Linked DNA regions of Homo sapiens: all the other regions are linked to region 1. The links are contacts of gene promoters, found by promoter capture Hi-C in human tissues and cell types (Jung and others, 2019). All regions are on one chromosome and are shown on one strand. Each heading gives the region's core, a stretch centred on a gene start or on the middle of the fragment in contact. The rest is flanking DNA. Distances are from core to core; before and after follow the strand shown.

Region 1 (3,792 bases), core at 634-3,133:
AGTTCAAACAAGAAGTGATGTTACCACAAACAGGAAGTGATATTACGTGAAACAGGAAGTGATGCTATGTCAAACAGGAAGTAAGAGGCAAGGGCCAACCTTGGTGAGGTAGTAGACAGACTGCTGGAAGGTACACATGATGACCTCATCCAGGAGGGCCATGGCCTCATCACATAATTCCAAGTCATTGCAGAGCTGTGGGTCTGAGGACAGGCTTGGGGTTAAGAGGGAGAACCAGAAGTCGGCAGCCAGGAGCCCAGGTCCCCAGGTGCAGGGCATGATGGGAGACTTGGACAAGCCTGAGCCTGAGTCAGAGCTCACCCTCTTGGTCAGCCTCCTTCTCCATTTCCAGCACCTTCTCCTGCACAAAGCTAAGCAGCTCCGTGGTGTTGGCCATCCACAGCATGAGTGGCCGCAGCTCCACAGACACAGCTTCAGGAGTCAGGGGCACCTCGGGGACCCCCTCAGGGTGGCTTGAAAAAGAGGAAGGAATTTGTGATCCCTGCCCAACCCTCATCATAGTTTACAAACCCCAAGATCTAAGTCTAAGTGGGAGAGCAAGACCAACTCCCATTGCGCAGCTGGAAAAGTTGAGCGCAAGGAGAAGCAGAAACTTGCACTGGGGCATGCATGGGGTGAACACAGAACTAGACGCAAAACCCAACCCCTGCATCCCTCCAGACCACTCTGCTCAGAATTTCTCTTACTTTTCTGGCTGACGGTCTCCAATTTCCTTAATCTTTTCCTGTGGAACAGTAAGATCAGAATCAAGGTGAGGGGGATCCACTGAGGGGCTTAAGAGTTAATACCCTGGTTTTTATAGAAGCACAACTCTCATAGAGACTGGTCCTACTTTTCTTAGAGATGGGGTCTTACTATGTTGCCACCGGTGGTCTCCAACTCCTGAGCTCAAATGATCCTCCCACCTTGGCCTCCCAAAGAACTAGGATTACAGGCATGAGCCACTGCAACCGGCCTTCACTCTTCATACGGATTCTTTTTTTTTTTTTTTTTTTTTGAGATGGAGTTACCCTGTTGTTGCCCAGGCTGGGGTGCAATGGCTCAATTTTGGCTCACTGCAACCTCTGCCTCCCAGGTTCAAGTGATTCTCCTGCCTCAGCCTCCCAAGTAGCTGGGATTACAGGCATGTGCTACCATGCCCGGCTAATTTTTTGCATTTTTAGTAGAGACGGGGTTTCACCATGTTAGCCAGGATGGTCTCGATCTCCCGACTTCAGGTGATCTGCCCGCCTCGGCCTCCCAAAGTGCCGGGATTACAGGCATGAGCCACCACGCCTGGCTCTTGAGACAAATTCTAATCCCACAAGCTTTAGAATGGTCTCTCCTTACTTTTTAAAACATACACACCCTATGATTATGAGTGATCTAGCTCCTTCAGGTCCTCTTCTCCAATTTTTACCCCCAAGAAACTCCTTAAACCTCTCTGGTTAGGCCCTAGCTCAATAGGATGGAACGTTTCCCCCACTCTGAATGGTTTCTTTCTGGAACTTCCATCTGTAGGTCCAGTGGATTTGTGCTTCCTCGCCTCCAAGAATGAACTCGCTCACTGCTATCCAAGCTCCAAGCCCAATGGGCTGCGGTGAATTCTCACACTGATCTCTGTCAACTTCTCATCCAGTGGGATCTCTCCCCCACCATCTCCCATAATGGTTTCTTCCTAAGGTGAGTTCGTGCTTAGGTGAGCTCTCCTAAGGTGAGTTTGGGCTTCCCTCTAAGTGCAGTGGATCTACATCTCCCAGCATTCTATGGGGGGGCCCCTTGCTTAATAACCCCAAAACACCGGGTGTGGTGGCTCACACCTGTAATCCCAGCACTTTGGGAGGCCGAGGCGGGCGAACCACGAGGTCAGGAGTTCCAGACAAGCCTGGCCAATATGGTGAAACCCCGTCTTACTAAAAATACAAAAAATTAGCCGGGCGTGCTGGCAGGCGCCTGCAATCCCAGCTACTCGGGAGGCTGAGGCAGAAGAATCATTTGAACCCCGGAGGTAGAGGTTGCAGTGAACCAAGACCGCCACTGCACTCCAGCCTGGGTAACAGAGCGAGACTCCGTCTCAAAAACAAAAGCAAACAAACAAACAAACAAAACCCAAAACCCCAAATCCTTCCCGAGGCGTCATGGGAACAGTAGTATCCAGCCCAGCTATGAAAAGGGTTGAAGGTAGGGAAGGGAGGCTGGAGAAGGGACTTGGGGCGCTGGTGGGGCTGGACGGCGATTGGGGGGCGCTCACCCAGACGGCCTCCTTGATGAGCCGGGCCAGGCGGCCCAGCAGTCGTGGCAGGTGGCCCAGCTCCAGCTCACGGGCGGAATGCTGCACGCACAGCGCCAGCAGCGTGGCGGGCCCGAGGGGCGGCAGGTCTCCCGAGCCGGCGGCTGCGGCGCGCACGATCTCGCCCAGCAGCGCCTCCTCCTCGCGCGGCCGGAAGCGCAGGACTGGCTCACGGCCGTCCAGGTAGGCGGCCAGTGCCTCGCCGCGCTCCTGCAGGCCGCGGCCGCACAGGCGACAGGAGAAGGCCCAGCCAGGGCCTGGCGGCGTGGCCCCGGGGCGCGCGGGCAGCCACGGCGGCCTCGCAGGCCCCGAGCCCCCAGTGCGGGGGTCCTTGTACATGAACAGGAAGTGCTCGCCCAGCCCCAGGAGGTCGCCCGGGTGCAGCTCAGCCTCCCGCAGCAGGAGGCACCCGTTGTGCGTGACTGGGGCGCCCCGGGACGGGCGCACCATGGCCGGGTGCTCAGGGCCCGCGCGCACTGTGCAGTGACGCGGCAGGATGTCCGGGGCGTTGAGGAAGGTGTCCACATAGGGAGCCGGGGACCCCCCGCGGCCAGACGAGTTCCCACCTCGCCCAAACACGTGCTGCTCTCGCGTCATCACATACACCACAAAGTCCTGGAGGGGAAACGAGGATGCACTAAGGACATCACTTCAATCCATATCTTCAGATCTGTTCTCTCTGTTTTCTACAACAACTTTTCTATTCCCACCAACTTTTTTTTTCCTTCTTCTTCTTTTTTTTTTTTTTTTTTTTTTTGAGATGGAGTCTCGCTCTGTCCTCCAGGCTGGAGTCCAGTGGCACGATCTCGGCTCACTGCAACCTCTGCCTCCTGAGTTCAAGCAATTCTCCTGCCTCAGTCTGTTGAGTAGCTGGGAGTACAGGCGCCTGCCACCACACCCGGCTAATTTTTGTATTTTTAGTAGGGAAAGGGTTTCACCATGTTGGCCAGGCTGGTCTTAAACTCCTGATCTCAGGTGATCCACCTACCTCGGCCTCCCGAAGTGCTGGGATTACAGGCGTGAACTATCGCGCCCGGCCCCCCACCGACTTTGAATAGACACTCCAAGGAGATCTGGATCTCAAAGGACTCTCTAAGCACCCGCAACGCCACTGAGTGGACTCTTCCCAGGCACTTTGTATGGTGGATGGTCCCATAACACCCATCCCGAAGACCGGCTATGTACAAGGAGACCCCCCTTTTTTTCTTTGAGACAGAGTCACGCTCTGTTGCCAGGCTGGAGTGCAGTGGCACGATCTCGGCTCACTCCAACCTCCGCCTCCCGGGTTCAAGCGATTCCCCTGCCTCAACCTCCCGAGTAGTTGAGACTACAGGCGCGCACCATCACGCCCAGCTAATTTTTGTATTTTTAGTAGGGACAGGGTCACCATGTTGGCCAGGATGGTCTCGATCTCTTGACCTTGTGATCCGCCTGCCTTGGCCTCCTAAAGTGCTGGGATTACAGGTGTGAGCCACCACACCCAGCCAGAGACCCATTTCTTA
Region 2 (3,792 bases), core at 831-3,330, 910 kb after region 1:
GCCTGCGGGGGAGCCGGGCGGGACCCGGGGGGGCGGGCTACGCTAATGAGGCTACTGCATAATCATGAGCTCTGGCAAGGAGGGCTCGCGTCTCCGGACACTTAAGGAGGGGGACGGGCCAAAGAAAGGGAGGAGCTATGTTAATAAGGGAAAGGGAACGGCGTTCGCTGCGAAGGGGAATTCCGAATGAGGCGGGGCTATGCTAATGAGAGACCTGTGCTTTGCCCTGAGCGGCGCCACGCGCTCTCAGCGGGAGGGCGGTCTGTGGGCGTGGCTATGCTAATAAGAATTTATTCTTTCAGCAGACGGGGCGGAAAGTTCCTCAGGGGAGGGGCTATGCAAATAAGGACCCCTGTGACACTGCTGCTTGGGGCATCGTCTCCGAGGCCTTAGTATGGTAGGCGGAGCTCGTCGACTCGCGCGCGCGGCCGTATATAGGGCGCTCCGAGGAAGCAGCAGGTTTTGAGGAGTAGCTCCACCTCCCTCCTGGGATCCTAGCCAAGCTTTCGACCCCGGCGTCTGGGTTAGAAGCTAGAGTCTCCGCCCGCTAAGGGACCCAGGCTTCCGGTTCCCGCTGTCCCAGCCAAGCGGAAGACAGACTGGGAGGAGAGTGGGGCCCTAGAGGGGGACAGCAGGGTAACGGGGCAGGGAGGGGCCGTGAGATCACTGCATTCCTAATCCATGAGCCAGCTCGCCCAAGTAGGGATGCCTGGGTCATGAAGAGCCTGGGGCCAGGATTTCTGGGTCTTGAAGGAGAAGGAAGCAGAGGGCCCAGACTCCTGGGTCCTTAGGAGAAAATGGGGCTGGAGATGTGGACTCCTGGGTCCTGGGGAGGAGGGTGTCAGGGAGGAAGGTAGACAGGTTCCTTCGTACTAGGTTCGGTAAAGGAGGGAGCCGGGGGCCTGGACTCTTAGGTCCAGGAATTGGAGAGGCTGGGGACCCAGGATTCTGGATCCGAGCGAGGGCACTGGCTTGGGGGGACCCGAATTCGTATGTGAGAGCTTGAGACCAGGACTAGTCTGGGAGACCGACTCTTGGATCCGAGGAAGGAAGAATCAGACTCCTGAGTCGGAGGGAGGAGGGAAATAGGAGTCTGGACACTGCTCTGAGTGAGAGGATTCGGAATTCAGACTTCTCTGTACTGAACGAGGCGGCTATGGGGTCGGGCTTCTAGGTTCTAAGTTTATTTTTATTTGTTTATTTTTGAGACGGAGTTTCCGTCTTGTAGCCCATGCTGGAGTGCAATGGCGCGATCTTGGCCCACTGCAACCTCCGCTTCCCGGGTTCAAGCGATTCTCCTACCTCAGCCTCCCGAGTAGCTGGGATTACAGGCGTTAGCCACCACGCCAGGCTAATTTTTGTATTTTTAGTAGAGACTGGGTTTCACCATGTTGGTCAGGCTGGTCTTGAACTCCTGATATCAGATGATCCGCCTGCTTCGGCCTCCCAAAGTGCTGGGATTACAGACGTGAGCCACCGCGCCTGGCCTATTTTTATTTTTTTAGAGGCGGGGTCTCCCTATATTGCCTAGGCTGGCTTCTAACTTCTAGGCTCAAGCCATCCTTCCGCCTCAGTCTCCCGAGTGGGACTACGGTGTGCGCCACTGCATCCCGTCTGGTTCTAAATTTAGGGGGGCCTAGAGGATCTGGATTCTGAGAGCCCCAGAATGTGGGCAGCACAACATCCAGCAAGTCGTGCTCACTCCGCCGGACTACAATTCCCTTGCGTCTGTTCTGCCTGGCGCCTCTTACGTCACCTCCTGTTCCGCCACCCTTTCCGCGCGCGCGCAGGGCACTGTGGGGCGTCATCGCGGGCTACCGCGGCCCCGCCCACTTCACCTCTCACCCCATTAGCTGTCCCCGCGCGACAGAGGCGGTGCGCGGACTACGCCTCCCGGCGTGCATCGCGCGGACCCCGCCCCATGTGTCCCATTGGCTTCTGGGAAACCGAGTGCGGTTGCCTTCCCGCCGGCCTTCACGTCGCCGTGCTCGGTACTTGAAATCCCGGCAAGCTCGGCGGCGCTTTAGCTCCGCCTCTCTCCTCCTTTGCTCACGAACCCCGCCCCAGCCCGCCCCGCCCCGCGCCGGGGCCGGAGCCGCAGCCCGAGCGGCGGGGTAAGATGGCGGCGGCAGTCCGGGCCGCGGGGCTCGGGCCTATTGGGGTGGGCGGGGCGGAGTTGGGTCGCTAGTTGTCCCGGGGTCCTCCCCACAAGCCACGGGTCCTAGAGGGCTTCTCGGGGCGGTCTCGGGCCCGGCAGCTGCGGCGAAACCTGGCGCCGAGAGGGGGGCCTTCTCAGGGCCCCGGGACGCATCCGTGGGTTCCTGGGGGCGTCTATGGGGCGTCTCCGAGAGGACTTGGGGCGTCTCTGGGCCTAGACCGAGCCTAAGGCCTGCCCTCCATCACACAGCTGGCCTGGATCGTGTCTGTAGACACTGTAGATTGTCTTTTTGGGCTGACCGGAGGCTAGGGTCTGGTTAGAGGGTTCTGGGGCCATCTTGAGATCTTGAGATATGTCCCAGGGGTGAAGGAGGGTCTGCAAGACCTGAAGAGTATCTTCAGAGCCATCTAGAGGCCTGGGGTATGTCTTTTAGGGCTGGAAAGTGTCTGCATGGGCTGGCCTGAGGATGCAACTGGTCTGCATAAGTCTGGGGCCATTTATCAGGCCTAGAAGGAGTGTTCAAGGGCTAAGAAGTCATTTAGGGCCCCCTAGGGGGTTGGGTTATGCCCACCAGGGAAGGGCGCCAAATATTGAGATGTACTGAGGGTCTGGGGTCTCCAAGGTATGGGTAGTGTCTAATAATGGGTGACAGGAGGCTGGGGGCAGTTAGAAGGACCTGGAACCATCTAGATGGCTTTAATGTGACTGCAGGAATGCAGTTTTGATGCCTGGAGCAAATTCGAATGCCTTTGGGGTCAGAGCAGCTTGTGGCGAATAATAATACGGAAAGAGAATGAGGAAATTTTGCCCAGCTTAGATATACTTGCCCTTCAGACAGTAATTCAAATGAAAAATGTTTTAAGATTCTGCATTACCCTGGGGGTTATTGAGAGAGTTAGAATTAATCTACATTAGTCTGGAAGAGTCTGGAGGGTCATCTAGACCCACTATTACAGTGCTTTTCAAGGGGAAACCTGGGCCATGTTGACCGTGATCTGCATTAAGATACATTTTTTCATTGAGACCTGGTACAGACAGTCATAATGTATTTAACATTATATAACATAATGTATTAACATTAACTCACCTTCCACGAATTGACATTTCCACTTACTACTTGTGCTGTGCTGTGAAGAACTATTTTGTTCTATTTACTTTTTAAAACAAGCTATTTGTGAAGCACTAAACTGGTATATGACCCTGTTGTTGGGGAAACCACTGATCCAGATAGGACCTAGCAGTATCTGCAGAGCATTCTTCTGTTCAGAAGATCTCAGTAGCTGAGGGTGTGTCTGCGAAGCCTGGTGCTTTCTAAATGAGCAAGCAAGCATCTTTGTATACTGCAGAGGGTTTGGGGATCCCTCAGCCTGTAGTCAGCAGATGTTGATTAAGCTTCTGATATGTGACAGTCACTGTTGTAGGTAGCATGTGCTTCCCCGGGAGGTGCTGGAGAGCAGTTCCAGGGCCAGGAACTGGGGCTGAGCTTATTGAGTATTGGTGAAAGAGGCTGGGATGTAATAGACTATCAGGGTTGGGTGTGTCTTAGGAAGTTAGGAATTAGGTGGAGCTGGGAGGCTGAATATGGAGGCTTGGCATGGTTTGAAAATCTATATGGGATCTAGAACAGGACCAGG
Region 3 (3,792 bases), core at 789-3,288, 710 kb after region 1:
TGGCATCACTCTTCTCAAGGAAGAGCTCTGTTCTAGGCTTGGGAGGGAGACTGACCTGGGTTCAAATCATGGGGCTCATACTCATCCACTGATCTCCCCAACCCCAGAATGGAGCCTCAGTTTCCCCATCTTTGTCTAGAGGATTAAATGAGATCAACCTGTTGTCTCTAATATGGGGTATTCCCCTCTCCCTCCAACCATCAGAGCAAACCCCAGGCATTGGAAGCAAATGCTTTTCTCTGCACAAACTCCCTGCTGATGGTCCTGGCCAGAGCCCGGGGGTCTCTGGGGACCCAAGAGGTAACTCAGAGAGTGAGAGCCAGAGAGATTGACTGTGAGAAACCCTAGCACAGATGAGAAACAGAGGCAGAGACTGAGGGAGGGGCCTGAGGAATACATCCCTCCCGCTGCCACCCCCCAGCCCCCTCCACCAGCACGTCTCTTTCTCTCTCTCTCATTCTCCTGACTTCACACTGATGTATTTTGAGAAACTCGTGAAAGGAGGCGAGAAAAAGGGTGGGGAGGGGCTGGAAAATTGGAAAAAGAAGGGGTGAGGTTATCTCAGCTTCCCCTCCACCACCAACCTCCGTCACTGCACCATCCTCCTGCCCACCTCCCCCCACTTCTGTCCAGCCTTATTCTTGTCTCTCATGTTACTAGAGGGTGGGGTAACTTTGGAGCTAAGAGGTGATCTGCAGCAAGCAAGACTGATGTTAGACTTAGCAAAGGACCCCCATGGCCTAGCGAGGTGGACTGAAGCTCAGCGAAACACAGGGTCAGGGCTGTGGGCCAAGGGGACAGGGCCTGAGGGCACGGCGGCAGGGGCATGGTGCTGATGAGGCCATCTCCTTCGTGCACTGTGGCCAGATATATTTTTAGGCTTTTCCGCAGCTGAGTAATTTATCTGACTTAGAGCCAAAGCTGGGGTTGGGGGTGAGAGCCTGTGGGGAGGTGTCCAGATTATCCTGAGGGACACTCGGTTCACTGGGGTCATCAACCTGGTTGGGAGGGAGTCCCTGTCAGCCCCAGCCTGTATCCTTTGGGAAGGCTGTCCTACCCCAGGAGCCGAAATTTTTGGCCTCTAACTCCTTTCTCTCCCAGGGACCCAGGGTGCTGTGACTTCTTCCACCCAGCCTCACCCCCTCAAGGACAACGGGCTATGAGCCCCAATCCGCTTTAGCTGCAGATTAAACTCCATGCCAGACAGAAACGGAAAAAGACACAGAGAGACGGAGAGACCCATGGTGGGAGAATTAAAACACAGAGACGGGGACAGGGACCCAGAGAAGTGGGGACCAGAGATCCAGGGAAGAGGAGAGACCCAGAAAGAGGGGGACAGAGACTCTGAGTCAGGAGTTGATAGAGATCCAGTGAGAGCAATGGCCAGAGAACCAGAGAGAGGGGCACAGAGACGCAAAGAAGCGGAGGCAGAGATCTAGGGAGAAGGAGGGGCCCAGAGAGAAGGGAGCCGAGATCTGGAAAAAGAGGGAGACGGAGACCCAGAGAGAAAAGGGGCAGAGACATCCAGAAAGAGACGGGGACAGAGACCCAGAAGTGGTGGGGGAGGAGCCAGAGACCCGGGAGAGAGGCATTTACAGCACCAGAGAGAGTGGAGCCGGGTGGGGTGGGGTGCAGAAAAAGGAACAGGATAATGGACAAGGCTCGACCAGGGAGAACAGCGCCGTCGGAGCCCACGGCAGAAAACTGGACAGATGGGTGGACCCCCATGCCGGGGTATCGCCCGTTCATCTGTCAGTCTGCGCCCAGGTGGGAATTAGCATCCTCCTCAGATCCTCCCACTCTTCTCCCGGGACCCCCGCCAGGCTCACCGGTGCAGCTTCCCGAGAGCACGACCCGCTAGCTTCCGAAACTCCTCCTGGCGGAACTCCATGGTGGCGGCTCCTGCCGCCGGTCACCCCGCGGGTCCCCCCCGCCGATCCCCCCGCCCGCGGGCCCGGGCGGCCGCGTCCGGGTTCCCGGGGTCCAGCCCCGGCCCGGCCGGCCCCGCAGCTCCGCTCGGGGGGAAGGAGGCTGCAAGTGCAGGCGGCCCGGGGGCTGTCACAGGACTCAGCGCCGGGGGCGGGGCGCGGGAGGCCCCGCCCCGGCCCCACCAGGCCCCTCCCCTCGTCTGTCAGACCCGCCCCCTCTCGCAGCCCTTTCATCCTCGTCCTGTCCCCTCCTGAGCCTTCCAAGACCACGCCTGTGGGTTCTGAACTCACGCCTCCGAGTTCACGCCCCCCAATTCTGTTCCTTCCCCAGGCTACTCCCCCTATCCCTGTTCCATCACCCCTGGCTCCTACCCAGATTTTCTCTCCTCTCCTGAGTTCTCATCCCCATCATTTCTCTCCCCGACTTCTGTTCCCCCTAATTGCGTCCCTTACAATCCTGTCTTCTCTGACTTTCCCTCTGCGTTCATCCTCCAGTTCCTTCACTCCTCCCCGCCCCCACCCCGCAATTCCATCCCCATCCCACCTCGTCCCCAGTTCCAATAGTCTCATCCAGGGAGTTCTTTGTTTTCTCATTCAAGGGAAATTCTTTCCCCTCAAGTCCAACGCCTACTTCGATCCACCTGTCGTCCCCCTCTAGTCCCTTTCGCCACCCGGGTTCTTCACCCTTGAGCTCCATCTCCTCCTTAGTTTCCATCTTTCCCCTTTGAATCCCATACTCCTCCAGCTCTATTCTCCCTCCGGCGTCTCTCTCCTCCCTGTTGCTTCTCTCCCTGAGTTTCATTCCCTAACCCCGATTTTCTTCCCTCTGGCTTCCGCCCCCCACAGTTATATTTCACACACCCCGCCAGTGCCAGCTGCGACCCCATAGTCTCCCCATTGTGTTATTTCTCTGCTCCTCTGGGATCTGTCCGCGCTCTGAGTTCTTCCCTAGCTCCGGGGGATCCATTCCTCTATTTGAGTTCTGTCTCCACCCCCTGAGATCTGTCCCGCCCCCTAAATTGTGATCCGCACCCCCTGGCATCCTCACCCGCCCTCTGAATTTGTCTCCTCCCCTAGGATCTGTCGCTGACCTGAGTTCTGCCCCCGCCCTCTGAGTTCTCTCCCCACCGTTGGAGTTGTGTCCCCTTCTCCTAGGATCTGTCCCTGGCTCTGTTCCCGCCCTCTCAGTTCTGTCCTTGCCCCCTGGAATCTGTTCCTGCCATCTGAGTTCTACCCCTTCCCCACAGGATCTATCTCTGCCCCCTGGAATCTGTCCCCACCCACCGAGTTCTGGCCTCCGTCCCTGGGATCTGTCCCCGCCCTCTGTGTTCTACCCCTGCCCCATGGGATCTGTCCCCGCCCACCCAGTTCTCCCCGCCCCCTGGATCTCTCCCTACCCTCCCAGTCTTGCCCCGGCCCCATGGGATCTGTCCCCGCCCTCCGACTTCTGACCCTCGCCACTGGGATCTGTCCTCGACCTCCCAGTCCTGCCTCCGCCCCCGGAATCTGACCCCGCCCACCGAGCTCTGGCCTCCGCCCCTGAGATCTGTCCCCGCCCTCCCAGTCTTGCCCCTGCCCCATGGGATCTGTCCCCCGCCCACCGCCTCCGCCTCTGGGATCTGTCCCTGCCCTCCCAGTCCTGCTCCCACCCCCGGAATCTGTCCCCGCCCACCGAACTCTGTCTCCACGCCGGAATTCCAGCGCCGCCCCGTTGGGTAGAGCCCGGCCCTTCCCTGTCCTGGGCCCGCAGACAGGGTCCCGCCCCGCTCCTGTCCTCAGACCAGCCCATCTCCCGGCGCTGAGTCCACCTCCAGATCCAGGCCCCAGGAGGGTGATCCTTTCCCCACTACCTCCCCGCGTCGGG

The links. Contacts are between HindIII fragments. The study calls those that stand out against the background at their distance.
Region 2: the fragment with the promoter of SCAF1 here is called in contact with a fragment that was not itself captured in region 1 in 1 of the 25 tissues and cell types used here (mesenchymal stem cells).
Region 3: a contact is called between the fragment with the promoter of SLC17A7 here and a fragment that was not itself captured in region 1, in 1 of the 25 tissues and cell types used here (dorsolateral prefrontal cortex).

Annotation. Positions count from the first base shown.
Region 1 is chr19:48,726,686-48,730,477 of GRCh38, forward strand. It overlaps RASIP1 (Ras interacting protein 1), which reads right to left. Exons shown (of 12, transcript NM_017805.3): 5 at 2,252-2,905; 6 at 708-745; 7 at 322-473; 8 at 100-203. It overlaps LOC124904737 (a long non-coding RNA gene), which reads left to right and starts at 1,459. Exons shown (of 2, transcript XR_007067286.1): 1 at 1,459-1,683. The HindIII fragment of the contact is 9,581 bases long and covers 1-3,792 here.
Region 2 is chr19:49,640,129-49,643,920 of GRCh38, forward strand. SCAF1 (SR-related CTD associated factor 1) reads left to right here and starts at 2,081. Exons shown (of 11, transcript NM_021228.3): 1 at 2,081-2,114. RRAS (RAS related) reads right to left here and starts at 15. Exons shown (of 6, transcript NM_006270.5): 1 at 1-15. RefSeq lists silencers at 1-141, 2,002-2,291 and enhancers at 1-531, 532-1,201, 1,202-1,871, 1,412-1,511, 1,622-1,971. The HindIII fragment of the contact is 1,761 bases long and covers 2,027-3,787 here.
Region 3 is chr19:49,439,489-49,443,280 of GRCh38, forward strand. It overlaps SLC17A7 (solute carrier family 17 member 7), which reads right to left and starts at 2,039. Exons shown (of 12, transcript NM_020309.4): 1 at 1,830-2,039. The coding sequence starts at 1,891. The HindIII fragment of the contact is 22,755 bases long and covers 1-3,792 here.